Regions from separate parts of the Homo sapiens genome. Here regions 2, 3, 4 and 5 are each linked to region 1. The links are contacts of gene promoters, found by promoter capture Hi-C in blood cells and fetal thymus (Javierre and others, 2016). All regions are on one chromosome and are shown on one strand. The core of a region is centred on a gene start or on the middle of the fragment in contact, and the rest is flanking DNA. Distances in the headings are between cores, read along the strand shown. Region 1 holds the start of DCAF16 (DDB1 and CUL4 associated factor 16). Region 2 overlaps DHX15 (DEAH-box helicase 15). Region 3 has its middle 42 kb from the start of HS3ST1. Region 4 holds the start of DHX15 (DEAH-box helicase 15). Region 5 overlaps DHX15 (DEAH-box helicase 15).

Region 1 (3,659 bases), core at 511-3,010:
CCAGCCTGGGCGACAGAGCAAGACTCTGTCTCAAAATAAAAATAAAAAAATATATATTAGAAACGTCACAAAGCAAAATTATGGGCAACACAAATGTTACCACATTCTTAACTAGCAGCTGAATATCTACAAAGTTTGAGGAATTAAGCAGGAGAATGGATAAGGTATGGCATATTAATACAATGGAGTACTATAGCAACCTGTCTGTGCCGTAGTTTCCTCATCTTAAAAGAAGATCAAAGTTATCCTACAGGGTTTGTGAGCAGTAAACGAAGTAAAGTGCTTAGCATGGTGTCTGGCACATAATAAAGGTTAATTAAGTGCAAGTTACTATTATGAACATATCAATATGAACCACAGCAATATTGATTGAAAAAAGCCAGATGCACATATAATTATTCATTTAACGGTTAAAACATGCAAAATAGTACAATATCCTCATTCAGGGATTTATTCATGTCATTAATATATTAAAATATGTCATTAAGATATAGAAAGCTGCATGGTAAAAGTTAACAGTAAATTCAGAAAATCCATTACTTCTTCGGAGGGCAGGTAATTCAAAAGGAGAAAGATGTACAGGTGGCTTTAGTAATGTTCTATTTCTTCAGCTGGCAGTAGGTTACTGAGGTGTAGGAGAGGGAAAAACGGCTTCCCTCCATCCTCCTAGGTTCTTTGGCTGGGTTACAAATTAACCTGACATAGACATTAACAAGAAAAAAAACCCGTACTTAATTACATACGCAGAGGAGTCCCACCATGGTCAGATGATTGAATATTATACAGCATCCTACGCTACTCAAGAAATGGGGGCTTGCGGCTTTCTGGGGGATGGTGGCCACAAAGTTGTGGAAAGGTGAGGGGAGGAAATATACGGTGAATAAAAGTTGTCTTGGTATGCAGATAAGATCTCCCAGGTAACAAAAATTATCGCAGAGCTGCCCTCTTTCTGATACAGATCCTTTACTGATGTATATTTCCTCTGTAGATGTCAATTTCTTTTACAACAGGACAGATTTTCAGAGCGACTCCTGTGTCTGCATTTTATCAGAATACCAGCTCAAAATATACTCTAGAAGTATATTGTAGGGTGGCATATTTTGGTCTCCTACAGTCCTATTTTTGGATGGTGCATCCTGAGATCCAACAGAAGTTCTGTCTGATATAATTTCATTTAAAATTTAAAAACCTAGTTCCTACTCTTCTTTATTTTAACCACTACCCGAAAGACCTTTCCATTCTCTTGAGTTCTCCCTTAATACACTGTCCTTATGCACACTTGTAAACAGGGCCTACACAGCTGCACATCTAGAAACGGCAGCAGCTAAGTTAGCCCGCACCCCCCTTCGCAACGATCCCCGGACTGCCTGCACGCCCTGTGGAACCTCGCAGTCGGCTTCACCAGGGCAGGGACTAAGGCCTTCAAAAGACAGCATCCGTCTCCACTAACCTCGGGTCGCCCCGCTCAGCGGACCCAGCAGCGTCGTCTCCCTTCTCAGAGGTGGCCGGGCCTCCGGAACGCGCTACGAACTTTCCTTTGTCGCCGTCTCTCGAAGCGGAGCCCTCGTGTGGGGATCCCCCGCCCTTCGGCCACAAGGGAGGTTGTTATCCTCGGCAGATCTCCCGTTCTCACTCTTGGAGGATCGCTTTTTCTTTCTAGCCTCACGCTCAGCCGCACGACCCAGCCAGGCCTAACGCCAGCAGCCCTTCCCCTCCGGTGGCAAGGCCACTCCGCTCAGCTCCCGCGCCGACGCTACTTCCGGCCGAGTCAAGGCCCCTCCCCCTTAGAAACGCCACTTCCCTCCGTGAAAACGGCTGGACAAGGTTGAACCTAGACGCATGCGCCCAAAGCGCGGGGTGCGAGGTGGGTGGACCCATCGCTTCCCGCTCTCTTCTCCCAAAGCGCTTACGGCAGTCTCGCGGGATTTCCCCCTCTCGCGGGAATTATTTGAACGTTCGAGCGGTAAATACTCCCTGGGGCTGTCATAGAAGACTACTCGGAGAGCGCTGCCTCTGGGTTGGCGGGCTGGCAGGCTGTAGCCGAGCGCGGGCAGGACTCGTCCCGGCAGGGTTCCAGAGCCATGGGAGCGGAAAGGAGGCTGCTGTCGATTAAGGAGGCCTTTCGGCTGGCGCAGCAGCCGCACCAGAACCAGGCGAAGCTGGTGGTGGCGCTGAGCCGCACCTACCGCACGGTAAGCGCTCCCGGCCCCGGCCGCCGCCTCTCGCCCGCCCCGGCCCACCCTCCCTCAGGGGCCCTCCGTGGCCCTCGGGCTCGGCGCACCGTGACTCCAGCCTTGTTCACCTTCGCGACTCACTTCATAGGGATCTGAGGTTCGGAGAAGTCAGGGACTTACCCGAGGTCGCCTGGGCCCAGGCCAGAAAGCCTCCGAAGCCTGGGCGTCGTTCACACGGGCCCCGCCTTGGCTTTTCTGAGCCGACACCCCCAGCTTCTGGGCGGCGTGGACCGTTATTCCTTAGTCCGATCGTGAACGTGGAGAGAAACATTTACGACCACCGAGGCGATCAGACATCAAATATTGAACCGCAGAGTGGATCCTGAATGCGGGGGTTCAGTGGTCGTTGCCCCTGGGGTCATCGCTCCCCGCCGAACATCAAATGATTCTACCCTTGTCCTACGGTTACGTTGAATCCAATCACCAAATACCAAATTATTTTTAGGGCCTGGCCATTCTTATTTATGTACATACTATTTGTTTGTTTTGAGTGGAACCTTGAGAAGAATAGAACAATTAATTTGGGGAAGATGAATTATCTTGAGGTCCAAGAAAAATTGTGAGTAAACATCACAGGGCTTTGAGGATATGAGATAGGATGTGCAAGTTATCTCATAAAGAAACTGCTGGTGATAGGAAGGCCTGAATATGAGAAATATAAAAGCCAGTATTGATTTTGGGTTGTTGAAGAAGCGTATTTGTAACGTACTGGTACTAAAGGCTTATTGAGAATCAAAGATATTGAAAAAAATATATCAAAGGAATCTTTTCACTGTCAAAAGTCAAGCTTGTGTACTCCCATTATAGCCTGGAGAGAAATTCATGCAAATTGATTGCCCTTTGGCTGGTTTGGATAATTAAGAGTTTACTAAATAAATATTTTAATTTGTCTGCATTATTATGGCTAGTGCTTTCATCAGTCTTAGGGTGATGTTGGGAATAAAGGATTTTTATCGGTGCAGTTTATGAAGGGTTTCTTTTGTCTTTCAGATGGATGATAAGACAGTTTTTCATGAGGAGTTCATTCATTACCTTAAATATGTTATGGTGGTCTATAAACGTGAACCAGCTGTGGAGAGGGTAATAGAATTTGCAGCAAAGTTTGTTACCTCATTTCACCAATCAGATATGGAAGATGATGAGGAAGAGGAAGATGGTGGCCTTTTAAATTATTTGTTTACTTTTCTCTTAAAGGTACTATGAAAATGATAGCTTTGGGGAGGGATTTTAGAAAATTTTGCCACTTTAAAAGAGTCGTGGGAGTTTGTATGTTTTTGACAATGAAATATCTAGTGATTGAAAAAACCTGAATGAGTCTACCTTTCATAGGAAATATTAGAATTATCATTATGATTAAAAAGTGGACTTTAACTCCAGCATTAAATTTTTAATGACCTCTTTAAACCAGTTCTCCTTTGTTTATTT
Region 2 (3,448 bases), core at 492-2,991, 6.7 Mb after region 1:
ACACACAAAAAGGCAAAAATTAGCTAGGCATAGTGGTGCGTGCCTGTAGTCCCAGGAACTCAGGAGTCTGAGGTGGGAGGATCACCAGAGCCCAGGGAGGTAAAAGCTGCAGTGAGCCGTGATTGCACCACTGCACTCCAGCCTGGGAGTGAGACATTGCCTCCCTCACCCCATCCCCTCCCCCTAAAAAAGAACAGAACATGTCAAAGAGAAGCCAGTACAACATATCAAATATTAAGAATATAGTTAAGAGTTTCAAGAAAGAATGCTCATACCTATCATTCACCAAACTCTAATAAGCCTATTATATAATAAGATGCCACAATAAACACTGTGTTACTTAGATTCAAATACAGACATCTCACCAATCTCCTTTGATTTTTGATTCTGAAACTGAGTGTCCTCAGGCTCATATTCTAGCTACTGAGCCCATCTGGCCTTAAGGGTAAGCCACATCGTGCTTAAAAGACACAGCCAAAGAGAGAATGAACAAACAGAAAAGAGATAGAAGAGACTTATCCCAAATCAGGTGATTTGTTTTCAATTTTATCACCACAAAATTTTCTTGCATTTTTCTCAAAGTTTCTCTTATTTTATAAACACCTTAAAATAACTGTTCACAGTATTTACTTGACAAGTTTTACTTCTGTTCTTATAGCCGTTAACACAGCATACTTAAACTAAATAAAACCTTTTAAATTATGTTTCATCTTTATTGCTACTCAACAGACGTTTTTGGCTTTTGCAGTACGCAAGGGTCTTGGTCATAATTACCAATGATCACTCTGTAGAGGACTGTAAATGAAATCCACGTATTTGAATATTTGAATTTGGAGGTGCTTAGTTTTTAGATAAAGACTAAAGCCAACTGTATGTACTTTTGGATCCGCTCAATTGCTTCCTTTTAGTACTCTGTTATGACAATGTATTTCCAATTAAGCCCTAGATTCAGAGAAACTTTAATGCACTGATCAATATTCACATTCCTGAAGAAACAGGTGCCTAATCACATCTGAAAGTAGCCAAAGTTTCCATTTTGTATAACAAAGGCTCTATTAATAAAATAATTCTAAAAACGATTCCTGTATAACTAGACTACCTTAGCCATTTAGTACATTAATTTGTTACTCATTAAATACTTAAAATTTCTTAGTATATTAATTCACTCAAAGAAACTGGATGTACCAACATTTAAGATAAATTTTTATGAGCATGCACAAACTCACTTTTGCTTTTGAGTGGATTCAAAGGACTGTTAATAGAAATCAGTGTCATATGAATACTTAGTTATTCATTCCCATATTATCTACATACCTGCATAAAATACCCAGTAACCAAAGCTTTTCTTATATTAATATAATAGTCCCTGCTTGTAAAGTCAGTACTTCGACGAGGCAAATTAAATCTGTCCATAATTCGAGATAGCTGCTGGCGTACATTGTCTGCGGACATCAGGGACCTGTAGTTAATGAAGTTGTCATAACACCACTGAACCGATTCATGATCTAAAAAGGTAGAAGGCGGGGAGAAAAGAAGGCACCATGAATCACCCACACAGGAATGTTCTCTAATTAAAAAAATTGTTATAAAGAATAAGCTAAATAAACCAGAAAGGAGATTTACCCACAACATTTTCTTTAAATGAACTGCAATGTTACCAACTTTCTCAAAGATCTGTAGTGTGATTCAACATTAGAAACAGTAACAAGGCTTTTGGATTTGGATGCCAAAACAATGCTTTTGAATTAACTGTTTTTAGTGAATTACTTCTCCCATTAACATCCACCTGGTTGTTTCCAAAAGATGGTCTATCAGATAAGGGAAGGCTGGAAGTATTTGGTAAAAGTCATGGCCTGTTCATTTTCAATGAAACTACAGCTTTAGATTAAGATAACTGCAAACAATTGTTGTGTATTGTTCTTTATGCCTGACACAGAGCACCTCAGACTTAAAGACGGCAAAGTTTTATTGCGACACACGTGTCTCTCAGCAATTTATGAGCAAGTCCTGAAACAGAAGAAAGTTTACAAGGATGCCCGAAACCTCCACTCATGTTTAATAAACAAGACCTAAGTCTAAGCACTTCAAGTAATTTTATTACATGTATTATCAAAAGGATATTTCTCCACTGATGAATCCTTGATAAGCTTCCAACTAGCCTAGTGTTGCTCACTTAAAGAGCTCAACCTGTAGCATCATGAAAGAAATTTTACAGTGACATCTTTCATGTGCCAAAGACAGTCATGGCAAAGAATTGCATTATTTATTTCAGAGGACCTTTGATAAATAAAACTAACAGGGTTATTGTGAAATGGGAGAGAGAAAACAAAAATTAAAACTGTTGATCCTTCTCTTGCTACTGTGATGTATGCTTATCTTCAGCATACTCTTTTCTCTTTGGTTCTAGGATTCTACCAGTTATAGTGTATAACTCTGCCTTAATGTTTTTTAGACATAACAAATATATAAGTACATTTTTATCCATTACAAAATGCATCCCCATTTCAGAAATTAAGGATGGGTGAGGTGGAGATAGGAAATAGATTTTTGAATTAAAGAATACAATAACATATTAGAACACCCATTAATTAATCCATCTGGAATGAGAAATAAAAGTTAACCATCTGAAGCCATTGACATTTAAATCAAAGCACTGAATATCTTTGGGAGCTGAAACAGCACACCTTAGAGGTAATTTTACTTATGCTGATGCTCTGTAACAAGCTGAAAGGCAGAAAAATGCCCAAGCTGGACAATAAAAAGGCAAATTTTTGAAAAGGTTGTTGATTTGCAGACTATGGCTTGAAATGTAGCTTTTTTGTGTGGTTCTCAATTTTTAGAATTCATGTACTACAGATGGAAAAATTGCAAATCTAAGTTATTTGTTAAGAACAAATGACTAGTAACTAACATCTGATGGTTCTACTGTATTTCTAAACTTGTGAGAAATAATTGGGTAAATGGGAAAATTAAATCTAAAACTGGAAACATTAATATAATTCTAGCTGTTTATCTCTCACCAATACAGTAAACCACCCCTAAGATCTAAAGCCAAACCATTTGTCTGATTTTTAGAGAGAAATCTCCCCTCCCTAGACAGATCAAGGTACTGCAAAATAACTTGAATCTAGTTTTCGATTTCAAAGGGTTATTTACATAAATAGTATTAAGACAACATTTTAATTGACATGACATTTTAGCTTCACTATGTAATCAACTATTGTCTCTAATGCAAAACATCTTGACCAGTATCTGAAACACGCTTTTTTCAAATATACTCAATGTTTCAATTAATAACATACAACCATTTAAAAAGCTTTCGTGAAAATATTCCAAATATTTTCATATCCATATATATATGGATATATCGAAATAATAACACGTGGGGATCTGGCAAAGTTTTTTGCTTTTTTTTTTTTTAAGAGCTTCTCTTATTTGAAAAGGTGGC
Region 3 (3,442 bases), core at 594-3,093, 6.3 Mb before region 1:
AGTACTAAGCTATTGTCCCCTAAACCAGTTTCTGGTGGAGAAAAGTGAGGCTCAGGGAGGTAAAAGTGTCTGCCTCAGTTGGTTCATCAGCGCCAGTGGCAGTGCTCTAAGGAGACGCCAGGCCTCCGGTAACCACTCAGTGTCAGAAGTTCAGGCAGCAACAGGTGCATGAGGAAGGAGTGGGGACATTCCAGAAATGCAGCTGTCAGGAATTTTTTAAATTGTTTTCCTTTCCTCTTGGGCCAATCATTGGGTATTTACATTCACTGTGGTCACCTGAGCCAGGTACCGCAATTGCATGTCCTGGAGTAGAAACTGATGTGATACCCAAGACTAACACTTAGTTCCTTCTTTGCCTTTAAGTACTAAGTGGATCTGTGATTTTAGGCAAGTGATTGTCCCTTTCTGGGCCTGTGGTTTTTTTGTTTGTTTTACTTTTTTGTTTTTTAATTATCATGACCAAAAGTCTTTTATTATTAACAACAATTGCACACTTTTTGTTGGGAAAAAAGGTATACAAATTATAAAACAGTTAACAATGTTTCCTTAAGGAGAGAAGTGTTAATGCTCTTCTCTAATTATGCTTTTAATGGTATTTTGTTCTATTTTTTTATTTTCAATAGCTTCTTTATTTCCCTTGGGATATTGAAGCTTTACTTAATCTTATTCTTTCTAAGTAGGGTAGAGAATTCCTGTTTCAAGTCTCCACAAAACAAAATCCCTTTTCTTGACATAGTAGAAAGGACAGGTGCTTGGATGTTTGGTTGGCAGGGGAAAGGAAAGAGTCCAGGTGCTACTGATAGAAATATTCAACCAAATCCTCCAGTTTTCGACTCCACCACTCACTGTGGTGCCTTCCTCAAGACCTTGGAGCTCCAAGTCTCTGAAGAATATTTCAGGCAATGAGAGGAGTCCCTGACTAAGGTAAAACCCTCCTCTCTGTCTCTTTCTGTGTGCGTGTATATGTATGTATATGTATATGTATATGTATATGTATATACATATACATATTCTATTGCTGCTTCCTCCTTAAACTCCACTAGAATAACAATGAAAGGTATTTAACATATTAATCCACCAATGTGAATAGTTGAGAGATGCCAACAATTTGAAAGATGGAAAAGAGGTCTGCAAATGCTCATTGTCGTAGCACAGCTGAGAAAGCTCACTGAGGCGCTGAGAGTGAGATGCGAAGGGACGGCCAGTGCAACACGGGCCTGTGTGTTTTTATGGACAGTATGAAGGTATTGAAACTGATCAGTAGTCTTCAAACATTTTCTTTCTTTCTTTTTTTTTTTTTCTTTTAGCAGGGAGATCTATTTCTCAAGTGAAAGGTAACTGAAACTGTCATGCATGAAACAAGCCCAAGCAAGCAGCTGCAGTTGCATGGTCAGCTGAGCCAAGGGCAGAGAGATGAGCCAGATGGGCTTCCCGCCCCTGGAGGGAGCCCCCATCCCCAGAGGGCAGACTCTGACACTCCTTCCCAGGTTCTTGGGGCATCACCAAAAAGAGTGGAAATCCCTACATGTTTTATCTCCAAGGGTCTCTAACCTTCTGTAACACTGCTCTGTGAATGCAATGAGACCATGTAAGAAAAGCACTGAGTAAAACCAAGAGCCTCATGTTTTGTTGCTATGCTGATTTTAATCTTTGAAGGTAAAGGGCCCTTGTATCTGACCTGCAAAGCACTTGGGCTGCTGGCTTTGCAAGGCATTGGCAAGAATAATACCTAAGGTACAGCTTCAAGAAGGTGGCTTTGTTTTCTCCTCTGAGAATAAGGGACTGAAAAAGTGATGAGTAACTCGGAAAAAAATAAAAGAGAACAAGAGAGAACAAAGTAGCTTTTCTTGATAAAGCATTTCCTCTAACCTGAAAGCTAGACACGGAAGCCAGGGAGTGCAGGAATTGCCCTGGCTGTGGCTAGTCACCATGCCGCCACCCCCAAATTCTTCTCACCACCAGATCAGCCAGGGAACGGCTTGCTGAAACCTGCTGGCTCTTTCTTGTGACCTGGAAGGATGACAGAGAGGCTGACATCCTGGAAGACCTCATTGCCCTGGGTTCCTTAGGAATCACAGAAGGGAACTCATTCACTCATTCATTCATTCAAGAATAGTATAGACTCTGCACAGTAGAGAAAACATGTATATCATTTTTCCAGATTCAACAGCTAGTGAATTTCCTGTATGCCAAGTCTTTAGAACTCAGGGATGAATGAAATTTCACAGGCTATTCTGTCTCTGAAAATCAAGTAAGGCAACACTCACATCCCCTCTGGGAAGCCAACCTTAGCCTCGTAGTCTGGATAAAATTTCACTATTATGTGCTACCTCAGCAGTTATGTACTGTAGCATCAGTCACATCCACTTCAGTGTAAGTTCTGGGAGGACAGGACATGTGTCTCTAGTAGCAGAAGAGATTGGCATGACAACAACCTCCAGTAGGTGTTCTACTAATTAAGTTTAGAAGAATTTAACTGTGGAGCCCGAGGCACGGGGATCACTTGAGGTCAGGAGTTCAAGACCAGCCTGGCCAACATGGTGAAACCCCATCTCTACCAAAAATACAAAAATTAGCCAGGCGGGTGGCACACACCTATAGTCCCAGCTATGTGGGAGGCTGAGGCAGGAGAATTGCTTGAATCCAGAAGGTGGAAGTTGCAGTGAGCCGAGATCGCGCCACTGCACTCCAGCCTGGGTGACAGAGTGAGACTCTATCTCAAAAAAAAAAAAAAAAAAAGAATTAACTATATTTAACTTTGCTTACCACACCACACTATGTACCCAATTACTTGTCTGTCTTCCCTCTCTACTCTCCCTATGGGCTGTGAGCCCCTACGAGCCCCTAAAGGCTGGAACCTTACCTCTTCCTGTCTGGCATCACATGCACTGTCTCATTCTATTGTGCGGAGACGTGAGCCAGGTCTGAATTCAAATCTATGACCCTGCCACTTCCTGTGGGGTGCATATCCTGTTTCAGTTTCCTCATATCTCAAAATGAAAATGAAAACACAATTTCCACACCTACAGCTACGAAAAAGCTTAGAAAGAATGCCAGTGATCTGCCTAGGACAATCCATAGCAAAGCATGGGCACACAGTAATTGCTAGCTATTAATAGAAACTTCAATTTGTTTAAACTCCTAAAGCTCATTGAATTGCTGGAAAAAAACAGCCTCTAGAGAACTTCTGTATATGCTTTTTTTCAGATTCGCCATGTTTTAACATTTTGCCACATTTGCTTTTTTATCCTCTATTTTTTCCTATTCTCTCTTTCAAATATTGTTAAATATAGTAATGCACACATACATACATACACAAACATGTATGTGTGTGAATTATGCATTCTAAAATTATTGTTTTCTATACCATTTGAAAGTAGATTAGCTACATCCTGTTCTTTTATTTTTTAATATTTCAATGTGTATTCTCTAAGAATATTCT
Region 4 (3,177 bases), core at 377-2,876, 6.8 Mb after region 1:
TAACTCACAAAATTAAAATGTGACATGCTTTTGCTTTCTATTGAATAATTCAACATATGGCAAAGCCTCAAAAAGTACACCCTATCCTGGCTTATACTCTACAATGACACTAAACATATCCCTGGAAATCAATTTCAATGAAGAACTTTAGCTGAAAAATTCAAAACAGCTATACAGGTGACTTGACACAGTGATTCTGTATCACAAGTACACAATAAAATGATACAATTATGCAAAGTATTTGGCTACTCGGGCTTTTGTGGGTTTTGCCTGAATTATCCAAACAGGTCTTTGTACTTCATCAATGAAAACACACAAGGGACAAGAAATGATTTTCACGAAATTGCTTAAATTAACTGCTAAATTCCTCTGTACCTTTAAGGAAAGGAATCTGGAACACCAAGAGTTTGTGTAAGTATTTCAACTCTCAACCTCCACATGGGCGGTGTTTCGCCATAAATACTAAAAACACGTTTTGAACATGATCCCTGTATTTCAAAAGCTACTTATGAAGAAAAGTGGGACATGCATAGAAAATAAATGATGAAAAAAAAAAACAATGCCTTCTAATCCCTCCCCATGGGACGATGTTCAGTAACCAGTTTTAACCAAAGCAGGAAATACAGGAGATGGCGGGAGCGTAGGCAGAGAGCGGAAGTTTGCTAGTATCTACTTTGAAGTGTTTGAATGGACCAAGGCACGCTCTCTCCCGCCAAACTATAAACTCAGTCGCCCCAAAACACCAGCCTTCCAGCCCATCAGGTATATTACTCCACGTTTTCCTTTCTCCCGGCAGGTCCTCTACTCCCACCTCCCCCGAGAACTCCCTATTTGCTGGCTTCTCTCAACTCCCGCCACCCCCATCCCAGCCTACATTATGATCCACGCGCTGCTCTCACTTTCCGCCCTCCGCCTTTCCCGTCTGGAGTGCCTGGCCGCGCCCCCACCCAGGCCCTCCCCACGGCCCCTCTGGCTGGGAAGTGCCTGCTGCCCTTGGAAGCGAATACTCCCACCGCGCCCTCCCCCACCCTCTCCTCCGGCTCCAGGCCTTCCTCGGGAACCGAGGCCACGAGGTCCGCGGTTCACTCCCGCCCGACGCCCTCGCAAATGACTCCCGCTCGGTTCGGCCTGGGGGAGGAGGCGCCCTCATGGCTACTGCAGGCCTCTCCACCCTCCGGACTGGGCTGGGCAGCGGCCCCGTCGCACGCAACCCCCCGCGCCCTTGCCGGGCCGAACGGGCGCCGCGCTTCTCCTACCCGCCGCTAGTGAACCCAGCCCAGAGAGAAACAAAGGCTCGGGCTCCAGGACCCGCTCGGCCAGGCCAGCCCCGGCCCGCTCCCTGCCAGGACCCCAACAAAGCCCGAGCTGCCGCCTCGCGCCCCCGGCCTGGCTTACCCATCGGTCCCCGCACGCTTCTTGCCAGAGGGGTAATCCTCCCCTAGGTCCAACCGGTGCCGCTTGGACATCCTCGCACTCTTCGAACGGGCAGTTATTAAGGAAGAAAGCTGGCTGCTGTATGGGCACAGTCGAGGACAGCCACTTAACTCTGGAGGACCCCCACCCCTCCCGCTACTACAGCCCACACGGTGCGGCCGGAACCAACAGCTAAAATGGCGGCGGCGACGAGGGCTGGGCCTGCGCGCGCGCGCGCTTCCGCAGCGTGCGTGCGTGCGAGTGTGCGTGTGAGCGAGGTGCGCGCGCACGACGCCCAAAGGCGGGAACTCCTGTCCCGCCCGCTGCCTCATTGGTCCGACCTTTCTTGGGTCTCCTCCCTCTTCCTGTAGCTTTCCCCTCCTCGGAGCGGCTGTTAGGAAGAACCTGAAGGCCTTCACTTTCCATTTCAGGCTATCCTTGCCCCTCTGAGTCAAGAAATTGAGAAAGTCTAGTCCTAGTTAGGAAATCCTATTCATTTCTATTACCCCGGCTTTAAGGGAATCTCAGACCCAGAGAGGTTGAGAAACGAATGAAGATCGTACAGCTAATAAGTGGCAGAGCCGGGATTGGAACCCAGCTATTTAGTAACTCCAGATCTGGAACTTGCGGCCACTGCGCTACCCTCAGTTGCAGTGAGGGGCCGCGCGATGGTTCACGCCTGTAATCCCAACGCTTTGGGAGACCGAGGCGGGTGGATCACGAGGTCAGGAGTTCGAGACCAGCCTGGCCAACACGGTGAAACCCCGTCTCTACTAAAAATACAAAAATTAGCTGGGCGTGGTGGCGTACGCCTGTAATCCCAGCTACTCGGTAGGCTGAGGCAGGAGAATCGCTTGAACCTGGGAGGCGGAGGTTGCGGTGAGACGAGATCACACCAGTGCACTCCAGCCTGGACGACAGAACAAGACTCCGACTTGAAAGAAAAAAAAAAATCAATTGCAGTGAGGAAACTGAAGTGAGAAAATGTTAAGGCTTGTCATGATCTATTTTGCCCTTTTCTTGCCCAGCACGGACACCATGCACCCAAGCTATAGATGTTTTTAACTAGAATACAGAGAATTCGCAGTGAGGGCACAATTTGCTTTTTTGTTTTTTGTTTTTCTGTGCCTATTAATGCACTTTCGCAGTGTTAAATAACACCCTGCAAGGTAGTTGTTATTTTGTAGACGTAGACGCAAAGGCTGAGGAAGGTTACATCTCCTAGCCATAAGGGCTGTACCTAAAGCCATAACAAGGAGGTGGGGCAAGATGACTCTAAGGATTTTTGTGGATCTCTCCCCCTAGAATATGTCTGCTTCCTCAGTTGCATTTGTTCCCAGAAGAAATGCACAAGAAAAGATCTGTGGACCATCTGCAGCAGGGTGATCTCTGTTGTTCATGGAATGGCTTGGTTTGGCTGCCCTGGAAGACCATACTCTGGTTCTTATCCAAATCTCAGGACTGCAATTGCTAGGATTAAATGCAACTTAAATATTGCAACTGATGAGGGGTTTGTGTGTTTGTTTTGAGACAGTCTTGCTCTGTCGCCCAGGCTGGAGGACAGTGGTGCAATCTCAGCTCACTGCAACCTCCGCCTCCCGGGTTTAAGCCATTCTCCTGCCTCAGCCTCCCTCCTAGCTGGGATTATAAGCGCCCGCCACCACGCCCGGCTACGCGCCCGGCTAATTTTGGTATTTTTAGTAGAGACGTAGAGACGAGGTGTCGCCATGCTGGCCAGGCTGGTCTTGAACTCCGGACCTCAAG
Region 5 (3,639 bases), core at 108-2,607, 6.7 Mb after region 1:
CATAATTGTACATACTATATAGTACTTTTAAAACAACTGGCAGCAAAGTAGGTTTGTTTGAACTAGCATCATCACAAAGCAGTGAGTAATGTGTTGTGCTGTGATGCTGCAAGGTTACGTTCAGCTCCACTATAATCTTACGGGAGCAGCACCACAGCTATCTGAGAAGTTTGTCTTGACCAAAACGTTGTTATGTGGCACATGACTATATTCTAACACATGTGCATTCAAGAGGAGACATAATGAATATCAAGACGGAAAAAAAGAGAGAGACAGATTATGTATGATAGCTCTGGGAGAGGCAAAGGAACTTAAAAATGGAAGGCAGCACTGCGGACAAATGTATTCTAAATTTTATTGAAGTATTAATTCAATTAAACCCAGAAGTATGTAAAACGCTTATTATACACTAGGCAGCCTGTCCAATAAATGACCCAATCAGAAGCTACCCTTGTCAACAAAGTGCGTGTTTTTTTCAAAGGACAATGATACTAAACGGTGAGGAAGAATTTTAGGACATTTACTTTATATTTTTTTAATGTCCAACTGTGTCTCTATATCAAAAAACACAACGTTCTTAAACACAGTAAGAACAAATAAATTACTTTTCACTTATTTCAAACACATCAGTTTTTTTTAAAGGTTATCTGTCTCAAAAATTGTGACACAGAAAACTATTAAAGATTCAATGTTACTAGATCCTCCTTTGAAATCTCAAGTTTCTAAAAGAAAATGAAAGTAGATGCTATTCATCTAAATAAAAAATATAACAAAGCGAACAAATATTTTTTGAAAATACTGCTTTCAAATGTTGTATCTAGATTAGAATGCCCCCTGCTGGCATGCAAATAAAAAATTAAGAGCTCTCCAACTTAAAAAACATTTGAACATAATATAAAACTAGGATTCCAACATTTAAGAGTATCTGCAATTTTGTTAATTTTACTGTACATAAATGAAAAATAAATGCTCAGAAATCACAAAATATCCAGATTTCACACATTAAAAATTAAGTGCTTAAATTAGACATTTGCTTTGTGATTCCAGTATTTTAAAATGACAATTCCAACTTTACTGGAGATTAGACTACCCAATCTGCTAAGTATGCAAGGAGCTAAAACAAAATGATGACTATGTAGGATATAAAGGCATCTCTAAAATGTGGAAGAAATCCCGTAACACTTAAGTTTTTAGATAAAGTCCTAAACAGCTTTAAAACTTGCAATAAAAATTTTCCCTGAGGTTTGCCAAACTTCCAAGAAGTCAACACTATCAGCTGAGAATGCCACAAAACTTATCTGCATTCATCAGAATATAAACAGAAACAGGTAGTGGAGGAAAAGAAGTTTCAACAGCAGCCATCTGCTTAGTCATTAGCAATACTGAGAATAAAGACAGACAGTTCAGGAGTTTTTGATTTGAGAAAAGATTTTTAACTCCAAAAGCAGCAATATGTTAGTAAATTAATCTGGACCTTACCAATTAACTCACTGCATGTTGAAAAAAAAATTTACTAAGCAAAATTAAAAATAAAATTATTTAATTACAATCACTCTTATCTAATTACTATCTAGGCAACACTTTAAACTGTTCTCTCTCCCTCCCAAATTAACTCATGTGACTACAGAAGCACTTTTATTTAGTGGTCAGAATATGTTCTTAAAAACCAGTTTTAAATTTTTATGAGATTACTCAATTTCATGGAGGCTATTCAAATTTATGAAGAAAGGAGTACTGATTTCGCAGTTGCATTTAACTTACCAAGTAAAAATAATGAAGGTTCACAAAAATGAGAAGGTAATATTTACTTTAGACCAGCTCTACTACTAAATACAACAAATGAAATGTAAACAAAACGTTAGGTTTTCTGCTACCTTCTCCCCAAAACTCTTCAAATTCAAGACTGGGAATCTAAAGATAACTTAAAGAAGCAATGGTATGCAAAAAAACAGCTGACAACTAGAGCAGCATTTTATTTCATGAAAGACACTCTAGCATACATCTGAAAACCCTTCGGCTTACTCCCTTCCTTTCCCCAGCTGTGGGATTCACAGAAAATACCGCACAAAGTTGTCTCAGAGAAAAACCTTTCGGGTCCTTAACCATGAGGCCATTTGATATTTCTGATAGAATCTCAATACGCTTATGTTATCTGAGAATGATGACAATTTTAAATAGTGATTTAAAAAATAAAAATATGGCCAGGTGCAGTGGCTCACGCCTGTAATCCCAGCACTTTGGGAGGCCGAGGCGGGTGGATCACCTGAAGTTGGGAGTTCAAGACCAGCCTGACCAACACGGAGAAACCCCATCTCTACCAAAAATACCAATTAGTTGGGCATGGTGGCGCATGCCTGTAATCCCAGCTACTCGGAAGGCTGAGGCAGGAGAATCACCTGAACCTGGGAGGCAGAGGTTGCGGTGAGCCGAGATCGCGCCACTGCACTCCAGCCTGGGCAACAAGAGCAAAACTCCATCTCAAATAAATAAATAATAAAACAAAATAAATAAAAATAAAAATATACTATGCACTTTGGAGGAAATGAGAAACTAGAGACCAGACACAAGAGGACAAAACGATTATCCCAACAGCCTCAATACTACATTACAGCACAAATGCTGTTTATATGCCATCAAAAAAGCATTTTGGGGCCAGGTGTGGTGGCTCGCGCCTATAATCCCAGCACTTTGGGAACCCGAGAAGGGCAGATCACCTGAGGTCAGGAGTTCGAGACTAGCCTGGCCAACATAGTGAAACCCCGTCTCTACTAAAAATTAAAAAAAAATTAGCCAGGTGTGATGGTGGGCACCTGTGATCCCAGCTACTTGGGAGGCTGAGGCAAGAGAATCGCTTGAACCCGGGAGGCAGAGGTTGCAGTGAGCCGATAATCATGCCACTGCGCTCCAGCCTGGTTGACAGAGCGCGACTCTGTCTTCCCTCCCCACCCCCAAAAAGAAAAAGAAAAACCCTTTCGTAAAAGGCTTTTTAAAACTTTGTATTATCCAAATAGCTTCTGAATTTATTTAGCCACTCAGGTATTCCACAGCACACCTATAAACACCCTATTGAAAAGAAGCTTAGAAACGCTACATCTGGCCGGGTGCGATGGCTCACGCCTGTAATCCCAGCACTTTGGGAGGCCGAGGAGAGTGGATCACGAGGTCAGGAGATTGAGACCATCCTGGCTAAAACGGTGAAACCCTGTCTCTACTAAAAATACAAAAAATTAGCCGGGTGTGGTGGCGGGCACCTGTAGTCCCAGCTACTTGGGAGGCTGAGGCAGGAGAATGGCGTGAACCCAGAAGGCGGAGCTTGCGGTGAGCCAAGACTGCACCACTGCACTACAGCCTGGGCGACAGCGCAAGACTCCGTCTCGAAAAAAAAAAGAAATGCTACATCTGAGAATAAAATTTTAAATGAAGTAAATTCTAACTAAGAACTTTTAGTAATCCTTCCCAAATTTCATGAGCATATGGGAAGACAAAACCAAACTGAAGTGTTTTGATGATGAATAGGCACCCAAGTTCACTCACAAGCTAAATACTGATGAAGATAACCTGATTTCAAAGCAGCTGTGATGCACATTCATGCTTCAGCATAATAGCACTTATATCCCAGGGATCTCTTAAACTACAATT

The links. Contacts are between HindIII fragments. The CHiCAGO score rates a contact against its expected background, and 5 or more counts as called.
Region 2: a fragment that was not itself captured here is called in contact with the fragment with the promoter of DCAF16 in region 1 in 1 of 17 cell types (fetal thymus); the score reaches 5.4 in fetal thymus.
Region 3: a fragment that was not itself captured here is called in contact with the fragment with the promoter of DCAF16 in region 1 in 1 of 17 cell types (non-activated CD4 T cells); the score reaches 5.0 in non-activated CD4 T cells.
Region 4: the fragment with the promoter of DHX15 here is called in contact with the fragment with the promoter of DCAF16 in region 1 in 1 of 17 cell types (fetal thymus); the score reaches 6.1 in fetal thymus.
Region 5: a contact is called between a fragment that was not itself captured here and the fragment with the promoter of DCAF16 in region 1, in 1 of 17 cell types (non-activated CD4 T cells). The highest score is 5.9, in non-activated CD4 T cells.

Annotation. Positions count from the first base shown.
Region 1 is chr4:17,808,997-17,812,655 of GRCh38, forward strand. It overlaps DCAF16 (DDB1 and CUL4 associated factor 16), which reads right to left and starts at 1,761. Exons shown (of 3, transcript NM_017741.4): 1 at 1,451-1,761. It overlaps NCAPG (non-SMC condensin I complex subunit G), which reads left to right and starts at 1,983. Exons shown (of 21, transcript NM_022346.5): 1 at 1,983-2,192; 2 at 3,225-3,428. The coding sequence starts at 2,082. RefSeq lists enhancers at 1,299-1,388, 1,430-1,941, 1,509-1,668, 1,942-2,454. The HindIII fragment of the contact is 3,530 bases long and covers 1-3,019 here.
Region 2 is chr4:24,531,550-24,534,997 of GRCh38, forward strand. It overlaps DHX15 (DEAH-box helicase 15), which reads right to left. Exons shown (of 14, transcript NM_001358.3): 12 at 1,315-1,505. Among named protein-coding and RNA genes, the nearest start is that of MIR573, 13 kb to the left of the region's middle. The HindIII fragment of the contact is 807 bases long and covers 1,339-2,145 here.
Region 3 is chr4:11,468,908-11,472,349 of GRCh38, forward strand. No RefSeq gene overlaps it. Among named protein-coding and RNA genes, the nearest start is that of HS3ST1, 42 kb to the left of the region's middle. RefSeq lists an enhancer at 1,275-1,464. The HindIII fragment of the contact is 2,389 bases long and covers 650-3,038 here.
Region 4 is chr4:24,582,928-24,586,104 of GRCh38, forward strand. It overlaps DHX15 (DEAH-box helicase 15), which reads right to left and starts at 1,627. Exons shown (of 14, transcript NM_001358.3): 1 at 1,396-1,627. The coding sequence starts at 1,466. RefSeq lists silencers at 886-935, 1,136-1,215, 1,226-1,345 and an enhancer at 1,526-2,065. The HindIII fragment of the contact is 7,218 bases long and covers 1-3,177 here.
Region 5 is chr4:24,550,842-24,554,480 of GRCh38, forward strand. All of the region lies in intron 5 of DHX15 (DEAH-box helicase 15), which reads right to left. Among named protein-coding and RNA genes, the nearest start is that of DHX15, 32 kb to the right of the region's middle. RefSeq lists an enhancer at 2,349-2,917. The HindIII fragment of the contact is 3,436 bases long and covers 1-3,075 here.